Linked DNA regions of Homo sapiens: regions 2 and 3 are each linked to region 1. The links are contacts of gene promoters, found by promoter capture Hi-C in human tissues and cell types (Jung and others, 2019). All regions are on one chromosome and are shown on one strand. The core of a region is centred on a gene start or on the middle of the fragment in contact, and the rest is flanking DNA. Distances in the headings are between cores, read along the strand shown.

What was found. The method cuts DNA at HindIII sites, captures the fragments that hold promoters and counts their contacts. A contact is called where the count stands out against the background at its distance.
Region 2: a contact is called between a fragment that was not itself captured here and the fragment with the promoter of APOBEC4 in region 1, in 1 of the 25 tissues and cell types used here (mesenchymal stem cells).
Region 3: a contact is called between a fragment that was not itself captured here and the fragment with the promoter of APOBEC4 in region 1, in 3 of the 25 tissues and cell types used here (dorsolateral prefrontal cortex, hippocampus and mesenchymal stem cells).

What each region holds. Positions count from the first base shown.
Region 1 is chr1:183,651,703-183,655,072 of GRCh38, forward strand. APOBEC4 (apolipoprotein B mRNA editing enzyme catalytic polypeptide like 4) reads right to left here and starts at 1,614. Exons shown (of 2, transcript NM_203454.3): 1 at 1,370-1,614. It also overlaps a transcript of RGL1 not described here. The HindIII fragment of the contact is 3,396 bases long and covers 1-3,105 here.
Region 2 is chr1:183,807,021-183,810,254 of GRCh38, forward strand. All of the region lies in intron 2 of RGL1 (ral guanine nucleotide dissociation stimulator like 1), which reads left to right. Among named protein-coding and RNA genes, the nearest start is that of RGL1, 3.5 kb to the left of the region's middle. RefSeq lists an enhancer at 523-572. The HindIII fragment of the contact is 5,243 bases long and covers 1-3,234 here.
Region 3 is chr1:183,836,093-183,839,180 of GRCh38, forward strand. All of the region lies in intron 2 of RGL1 (ral guanine nucleotide dissociation stimulator like 1), which reads left to right. Among named protein-coding and RNA genes, the nearest start is that of RGL1, 33 kb to the left of the region's middle. The HindIII fragment of the contact is 5,221 bases long and covers 1-3,088 here.

The DNA.
Region 1 (3,370 bases), core at 364-2,863:
TTCCTTAGTACTATATTTTCCTGATGTAACTGAATTCCTGCCTTGAGGCTTCCTAGACCTTGTCATAGCTTTCCTTCTAGAGAGCTGGATTTAACCCTTGGCAGTGGACGATCTCTTGGAACCTGACGCCATTTCCTGCTTACTCCCGAGCATTGTTTCCTCTCTGGACCTCCTCCTTGCTTAGCCTTCATCAGGCTGGATGGATCTCTCCATCAGAACTTGCCAAAACCAAGCCCAAACTTTCATGCTTTTTAATATTGTGCCCTTGATGTGGTCGACTTATGGGTGGTACACCGGACATCCAGGTTACTGCTCAGATTACAATTTCAACTCACCCATAGACAATTTACAGATTGATTTGGCTAAATGTTATGGAAACAGAACCAAAAGGCACTTTTCTGTCTTTATTACTATTTCTTAAGGTGATGTGTATGTGGAGTTAACTATATATAATGGTCCCATAATTACCCTTTTGGGAAACAAAAGTCTTTGTGTGTTTTTAGATAAAGGTAGCAAAATGGAAACTCCCTATTGCTTTTCTAAGCACGCCTTCCTTTGCACCCCCATCTTCTGTGGCTGTTTTAGCCAGAAATGATACATCATTACTGTCTTTAAGGAGATGGAGAGGACTGTGGCTTTAACACATAGTGGAGGGAGCTCTGTAGTCTCATTCTTGCTGACAACTTTTCAGTGTCAACCAACTATAGTTTCCTATTGGTGAAGTTTTCACTTTTTCAGAGTCTTTCTGGGCTTGTTCTTTGATCACCCTCATCTGAAGAGGAAGCAGGAAAGAACTGTTGCCCTCTTTGAACTCTTAGAGAATTCATGGTTTATTGTATCAATTTGTTATCGACCACAGATTATCTTGTTAACTTTTGGTATCTGTCATTTTATTCTCCCCAACCAGGTGGAAATGTACCCTGTTTAGGCCCAGGACCTACCTTAGCAACCTTGATTGGCTCACAAGCCAGGTTGCTTAAGACTTGTTTCCCCAGCAGCTGGTGTCCCTACTTCCTGCCTAGCCCTTTTCCTTTTGCTTTGTCTGTGCTTGGGAAATACATGTTATACTCTGTAGAGCAGATTTGCTGGCAGTAAGAACAGAGATGTGTAGAGCCCAGCGTGCTGGAGGGCTCTCTGCATCTGGCTGTGAGTGGCCCCTGGACTGGGACCGTGGGAGGACAGCTTTCCATAGTTTAACATAAATGAACCACACCATAAGGACAATCTGCTCTCATTTCACTCAACTAGGATTTAGTGAGTACTGTTAAAGCACAGTTTGCACTGGAGTAATTGGAGAATGGAGTTTGCCCTTCACAATCTGTGCACAATCTGTTAGCAGCTAAAAACAAATGTTAGCAGTTATAATTACCATCAATTTGTCTCCAGGCTTGGATCACATTCCAGGTGTTAGAAGAGATGGTCCATTTCCTTTTTTTTCTCCTTTAAGTCCCATGCCCTGTTTCAAGTAGCTTCAGAAGGCAATTGTGCTGTAAAGATTCACCTTGTAATGGGTTCAGGACTCTTTCACAGTTTGTGTCTATTCGTTCATTTGAACTTTGCTGTTCCAAGTTAGAAAGCCCTTGCTGAGGTGTGGCTACCTCTAAGAACACTGTTGATTGGGTGCCATGGTAACGTTTGCAAAGTAGCTACTGCTAGGATACAGCTCTGACACTTATTACTTTATTTGCATATCAAGCCACCTGTTCCAAAGATGAAAATATACAGGACTGCATATCCCAGTCTGGGTAAAAGGATAATAGCTGACTGTTGAAGAGAACATGTTGCAGTTTTTCTCCTGCTAGCTGAAGAATCAAGTTCTGAGGGCCTGCTCCTCAGCACCTTTCTCCTGGTCTAGAGTAGGTGCCAGGCCTGGCGGTTCTGTTGCCTGCGTGGGTGCCAGGGCTTCTCCTTGGGAGGCTTGCCCTCTGTGAGAGGGAGCAGAGAGTTGACTTCCTCCAAGAGGCCCATAGTCCCTGAAGGGGGTGTTTTTGATTCTGTCTAAACCTAGGCTATGTGTTAGCGGTTTCCCTCCTCTTAGAAATTGCCTGGAAGACTCTTGCTATTGGTATGTATGTGGTTCCCTCCAGTTTAAGACAAGATTTGTTCCAGGATCGGTTGTAGCCCCTTCTCTGTGGCTAACGGAAGAGCCACTTGTCCTTCTCCATTCTTTTCCTTAGTCTCCCTTGACCCCCACATCATCTCCTAGACACAAGGCACATTGATAGTCACAATTCACTGTCAATCACTCTGGATTATTCCCTCATTCCCCTTTCCCAGGCCACCTGAAGGAGTGAGTGGGGATTGCTATTGTGTACATTCCAGTAATAACTATTGGCTGTAAGCAGACATACTCTAAAAATAACTCAGGGATACTGAGCACCCAGAGGGCACCTTCTGTCTTCTCGAAGCTTCGCCACGCCTGTTTCCACTGTCAGACTTCCAGTCTGCACCACAGCACACATCCTTTCTCATCCAGAGTGCTCCTACTAGACGAGATGTTTTTGTCTCCTAAGGGCCTCAGGTGTATTCATGAACTCCTCAGCTGGTTATTTTCAGTTTCATCTTCCTTGGTGCTTGCTCTGGCACATGGTCACTGCTGCATCCTGTCCCTTCCCCACAGTTTGCCATGGGTCATCCCTTTTTTCTCATTGCTTGCATCTTCTAACTGAATGAACTTGTAAATATGGAACTGAAAGTCAATCCTCATAGCTCATCTTTTATTTAATCCTAATAAATGACAATCTATTGCAAACATTACTTTAAAAATATTACTTATCAAAAGCTGGGTGAAAGGATAATAGCTGACTGTTGAAGAGAACATGTTGGGGTTTTTCTCCCGCTAGCTGAAGAATCAAGTTCTGAGGGCCTGCTCAGTTCTGTAAGAAAGTATTAGCTGTCTGACAGGTTCCAGTGAGGGGAGGAAAAGACAAAAAATATAGTCCCCAAATCTGCACCAGCATCCCATGTGCACTGTGCACCTTCCATGGTGGATTAGATGCTCAGCAAATGATATACCTATGGAAGGTTAAGCCTAAAGAAACAGGAAAAATGAGCCTTTGTCCACTAGCACATTTATCAATTGCATTTTAGGGTGATTTTAGGGATAGGCAACCCCAATTAGTCATTATTCTTTAAAGGTAGTTGTCTGTTAGATGTAGGAAGACTCCAAGGAATGTTAAGTTGGCAACATTCCATTTAGGTTGCACAGAATGACTTTTAAGACTAAACTTCATCAGGAGGAAATGAAAGGCCTTTACCATGGTTCCTGTTCACAGTGAAATTGACATGTATTGGAAAGGAGATGCTTGGAAGAAATGTCTAGCTTCCCCAACAGACTCCTTTCTTCTCTTTTCTGTCTTCCTTTGTTAAT
Region 2 (3,234 bases), core at 621-3,120, 160 kb after region 1:
CCACTACTTTGTGTGTAGAGTGGTGGGCCTTTGGAAAAATGCTGCTTCTGTAAACAGGACTCTTTTCCACTGAGATTGTAAAATATTGGGTGAGGTCATGCAAGTTTGTAGGTATCACCTAGTAGATCCTTCAACACATCCCAAATAAAGCGAATATGAGAAATGGAAAGCTCAGCGACAGGATCACTACTTGGGCAAATGTCAAACATGTGGAAGAATGAAGGGATTCTTGATCTGGAAGGAGAAGTAGTTCTCAGACCAGGCGGTGAGAGGCGACCCAAAAAGCCTTGAGAAAGAAAATAATGGTTGGCTGAATAGAGGGGGTGGAGTGTGATTTCACCTGGCTGGCCTTATTTTAGCCGATGGGCTTCAGAGTGTTGAAGATTTATGCACTTGCATCCCATCTTTAGCGGCTTGGAGTCTCTGAAAATTCAGAATATTTTGAGCAGCATTCAAAGGTGGAGTGTGAAGGAGGATAGGACACAAAATTGCACAGGGCCTCCTGTTAAGAGTAGTGGTAACGTGTGACTTGTAACTCCAGGGAGTTTAAGGCAGGATGGTGGCCCATGGCCGGCAGCAATCACTTCCTCTGCCATGAGTCTGCTGACACAGGCATTCATTGCTTTGGGCTTCCCCAGCTGCTTCAGCTCAGGCCTTTCCTGCTACTGTACTTTGGGCCAAGGTATCACCCATGAGGGCCAGAAATTGTTAATGACATCTGCAGGTGTGGTCTGGAAAGATAGGAGCTTTCCAGTGAGAACTAGAGGTCTTCACTTACCAAGTACCTACCTTACTCAGAATATGATTTTAAAATTAATTATGTATATCACTAGCAGACCTGATAGGGAAAGCAGAACTAGAGTTCTGACAAGTCATCACTTTGTTTTTGGTGGTTGTGTGTATGTATTTTATTTAAATGTGGCGTCCATGTGGTTTGGCCTCTAGCTATTTCAGAATGATTCACAACTTCTGAACCAGTTGTCTTCAAAAGGGTCATTACATTTTTTTGGTATCAGGTTATTCCTCTCTTTCTAATGAGACTGACTTTGCTTGGGTGACTGTTTTAGTTTTCAGCCATATACAACATTAGTTATGAGTAAGTCATTGGAAATGGAGGGGTTCACTCTGTAGGCCCCACATCTACAAACTGTCATGTATTTAGATGCTCAGAGTTATTTAGTAATCCCCACTGACTGTTCTCTTCACTAGACTTCACTTCTTTTCTTCTCTCTCCCTTCTCTCAGTGTTCTCAAATTTATACAGAGTTCAGAGTTAATTCACCCTGGATTCAACAGTAGATATGAAATACTGAGAAGGAGGATAATGTGAAAAGATTGGCTCTAGTTGATGGAGGAATCTGTCCCCCTCGCCCCCATTTCAACAAAGTGTGATTTACTGCTACCAGCCTACTCCTTTATTGCAAGTTCCTAGGGGCTCTCCAGCTCTAATCTACGTGTTTTCTTGTCTTAGGTGTCCTGTTGGGAAGTTCTGTTTTTGTCCTTGAAAATTCCAGACTTAATTAAATGTGACTCAACCCATTGAGCCATAGCAATTACAAACCTTTCTCTTTAGAACTGAGTGGCTTCCCCATGTTTGTTTTCCTGTATTCCAGTACCCTTTCAAAATTCTTCAAAGTAACTAGTTTCAGAGTTACTAGAGAGTGGGGTCAGGTGAGGAAATTATTGCAATATGACAACAACCTTCTGAGGAAGGTGGTGTTGTGATGATCTCTCTCTCTCTCTTTTTTTTTTTTTTAACATGAGGAGACTAATGCCCAGAGAGGTTAAATTGTTTGCCAGGGTCACACAGCTATGAAGTGGTAAACACCAGATTCAAATCCAGATGGTTGGCTCTTTGTTGTGAAGAATTTCCTGGGACCTTAAGGCTGTTTCCATAGTAGTAGAAAAGAACATTGGCTCAAAAGACTGAGGATGCTTTGGGTGTGCTTTTCCCTAATGTTGCAAGACTGGAGAGATGTAACTTTCTTTTCTTCATGTCTAGAATGATAACTTGAGCTGCAAATTGAGATATTTGTTGCGAAGCTATGATCTCACTGATAAACTCCCCATTTTGGAGGTTTAAAGCAGGGTGCATTGAAGATATGAAGATACGTATGAGGTTATGTAGCATGTGAGGATAGGCATAGCTTTGTTACGTGTCTGTAATGCTTATTCCAGATGCCTAAAAGATGGAACATAATTTTTGTATTTTCTAGTATTCAGATCTCAAAACATAATTAAGATTCAATTTTGGGGAGGAGAGCAAAATAATTACATATCCTCAGATGTGAAGTATTATACAGTCCAAAACATTTAGGTCATTCTTTTTTATTTTGTCTGTTAAATTCTGTGTTCAGTTGATCTTTTAAAGTAAAACTCTGTGTTTGGAAAACTACAACCAAGTATGTCCCAGGCCCAGTTTACTTGTACGTGCAGCTGCATCCTTGCCCATTGACGGTGAGATTATATTGGCAACTTTGAAAAACCAAATATTATTGAAATACTGACCCATTTTCCCTTTACAATAACATCTTTGGCTGGGATAATTTTACCCACCTATAATTCTCGAAGAAAAATGACTTCAATTATGTCACAAAATTTAAAAAATCTTAGGATTGGAAGAGACATTAAAGAGCAATTCCGAGCCTAGCACAGTGGCTCATTCTTGTAATCCCAGCACTTTGAGAGGCCAAGGCAGGCTAATTTGCTTGAGGCTGGGAGCTCAAGACCAGCCTGGGCAACATAGCAAGACCCTGTCTCTACTAAAAATAAAAATAAAATTAAAAAATTAGCTGAGTGTGGTGGTGTGTGCCTGTAGTCCCAGCTACTTGGGAGGCTGAGGTGGGAGGATCGCGTGAGCCAGGGTGGTCAAGGCTGTAGCGAGCCATGATTGCACCACTGCACTCTAGCCTGAGTGAGAGAGTGAGACTCTGTCTCTTAAAAAAAGAAGTAATTTCACCCAGACATTCACTTATCTTGTGATTTTTGGAAGAGCAAAGTGTCAAAACTTGTTATTTGTCTTTGGTCCCAGTGTTGTGGTTGTATATGGACAGTGAATAATATAGAAAAGAGTTAAGAAAATATCAGTATCCTCTGGAAGCAGGAAGTGTAACATTTCAGGATGAATACTCAAAGGGACAGAGGAAAAGAATTCAACTGTTTGGGAAGGGCTTTGGTGTCAGAAGTTCATGCTGTTGTCTTCAGAATATGACAGACTCAGGGTCCAAAAAACATG
Region 3 (3,088 bases), core at 524-3,023, 180 kb after region 1:
TGTTGTAAGGGTTGAGCATCTAATCCATAATGTGCACTCAGTAAATACAAGTTAGCCTTCTTTCTTCATTTACAGTCTAAGAATGGTTTTCTTAGAATTAATGTATAGCTTATGAAGAAGAAAACCTATTAAGAAAAAAAGCCAGTTTAGTGTATCTTTTCTTTTCTTTTTTTTTTAGACGGAGTTTTGCTCTTGTTGCCCAGGTTGGAGTGCAATGGCGCGATCTCAGGTCACTGCTACCTCCGCCTCTTGGGTTCAAGCGAGTCTCCTGCCTCAGCTTCCCGAGTAGCTGGGATTACAGGCACCCGCCATCACACCCAGCTAATTTTTTTTTTTTTGTATTTTTTTGTATTTTTAGTAGAGATGGGGTTTCTCCATGTTGGCCAGGATGATCTCGAACTCCTGACCTCAGGTGATCCACCCACCTAGGCCTTCCAAAGTGCGGGAATACAGGCGTGAGCCACTGCGCCCAGCCTTCAGTGTATGTTTCAAAGAGGTATACTCAGGATACACGCAACTGTTTTTCATAGAACTTTGCCCTAGGTTTGATCACCTAATAACATGCTTGAAAGACACCTGGTGGGTTTATCAGTAGCCAATTCTAGCAAGCCCATGATCTAGGAATATTATACGTGCCAAAAACAGTGCTGAGGGATAGAATACTTGCCAGAGACACTGCAGCCCAGAGGTTTGTGAGTCATAAAGCTACATCTTACATCTGAATTTATAAGTCCACATAGACTTTAAATATTTCATTTTGGAGGGGAAGGGATCAAACTAAACAACGTCATTATTACTTGAATTCCGAGATCCAGGGGAGTAATAATTTTATTGTCATTTTGGATAATGGGGCTTTGGTTTTTAACATTACAATAATAGGTAATCATAACAGTGGGAACTAAATGTTCCCATAGGAATCGCCTAGGTAGGGAAAGTGCAGAAGATTCCTTAATGTGGTATACGGAGTAAGAATCAAAAATTAATGACTTGACTTTAAAGTTTGGAAACATCAGTTAGTTGCTACCCTTCCCCGTACTCTCCCTGGAGGATTGGTGAAGGAGCACTTATAAATCTCACAAGGAGATAAAGCCCCATGGAGCTGTCTGTGGGATTTATGGCATGCTGGGAAAGCTTCTGGGCTGTGGGGAAGCCTCTCCATTCATAGCAGGCTTCATTCACAGAGAATATTAGGTCACACAGAAGCTCACTACCCCCTGCTGACCTTTACAGACAGAGATTGGTTGGGCTGCACAAAAACAGAATGGACTCAAGCAAGCCAGGGCACCTGTTAACCTGTGACCTTAGTTTATGAAGACCTTGGACATTTGAGGCTCTGAATGAGAGAAAAAGGAGGGAGCTATGAATTTTGGAAGTTCACTCTGGATACTAATTTGTATGTGACAATTTGTGATCTTATTTGGCAAATGCAACAGTGACTATTTTAATTCAAACTCCTCTCCCTCCGTGCAACTCTTAAATCCTTGAACTTCTCAAAATTGCATTGATGTATTCCTTTTATAAAGTAGGTAACGAAGTCATTGAAACTAAGTTTTTGCCCTAGGTCCGACAGTAAATTGGCTCCAAATGGAAATGCAACCTGTTAATTCATAACGCCTTAGTTCAGCAGTCCCCAACCTTTTGGCACCAGGGACTGGTTTTGTGGAAGACAGTTTTTCCATGAACGGGGGTTGAGGGGTGTTCGTTTCAGGATGAAACTGTTTCACCTCAGATCATCAGGCATTAGTTAGATTCCCATAAGAAGTGTACAACCTAGGTCCCTCGCATGTGCAGTTCACAATAGGCTTGGCGCTCCTATGAGAATCTAATGTCGCCGCTGATCTGACAGGAGGTGGAGCTCAGGCAGTAATGCTGGCTCACCTGCCACTCACCTGCTGCTGTGAGGCCCGGTTCCTAACAGGCCATAGACTGCTACTGGTCCATGGTGCAGGGGTTGGAGACCCTTGCTTTAGTTATTGGCATTCTGAGTTTCAAGCAGAAAAGTATCAGATGAAAGTGAAATTATTTTATTTGAAAAATGTGGTCGGCAAACTTCTTAAAATCCACTTAATATTTAAATTTGCTTTCTGGGAAACTTTGGAATCCTTAAAGGATGACCAGAATGTCAGAAATGGAGATTTGTGTTAGAGAAGATAGAATCTGTTATGGATTAATGTTGGACCAAGACTCCAGGAGTACTACTCTTTTTCAGGAGATGAGAAACACAGCTTCCTGTTTCCTTCAGGAGGGTTCCTGGACTCTATCTAGGAAACCCTACTGAGACAGGATGGCAAAGGGGGATGGGATTTCTGTGTGATAAAACACTAGCTATTGTTTGTTATTACAGCTCCCTTTACATCTTCCTGAGGATGAAGGATATTCATCATAGAAGCCTGACCACGTGGCTTCATTCTAACAAGTGGCTTCAAGCAAGGTCAACTCTTGGGGCTCGTGTAGTTTTTTCAGAGCACATTGGTTTGTCATACACATGCCCTTCTGCCTCTCCTGCCTCCACATTTCTACTTTCTTCATAGTTCAGAGGTGTAATTCCCTTCTTCTATCAGATAAAGATCATGGTGACAACACAAATACCTTAACTGGAACGTACACAGAAAGAAAATGTCTCAGCCAGTGTGAAGGTGTCTCTTGACACTGACACAATCTGAGAGGGACTTCTGGGCAGGGGTATGCTGATAAACTGGCCCTCCAAAATAAAAACCCTAATTTGTAGCATTGCTAATTTTCATGGCGTAAATAGTGTCACCATGTCTGAACTCACACTACCAACATGATGCCACTGAATGCAGAGGTGAGGAGTGTGCACATTTGGCTCGTGCAAGAGGTTCAAGCTGGCTCCAGCATACCGCTGTCTAAGCCTTGATATGTTTGTATAATTAGAGGGAAGGTACATATGTCAGCACATATGTGAATCTGGTGGTGAAGATTTCTTCTGGTTTCTCTGCCCAGAAATGCCATCATAGATCAGACGATGTATGAATTTGCCACATGTGCAAGTGCCTCTTCTGGTGCTGCCCATCTTTACTCTTGGAACCAGCTTAATTTTGGTACTCATCCAGATACCATCCTTAGC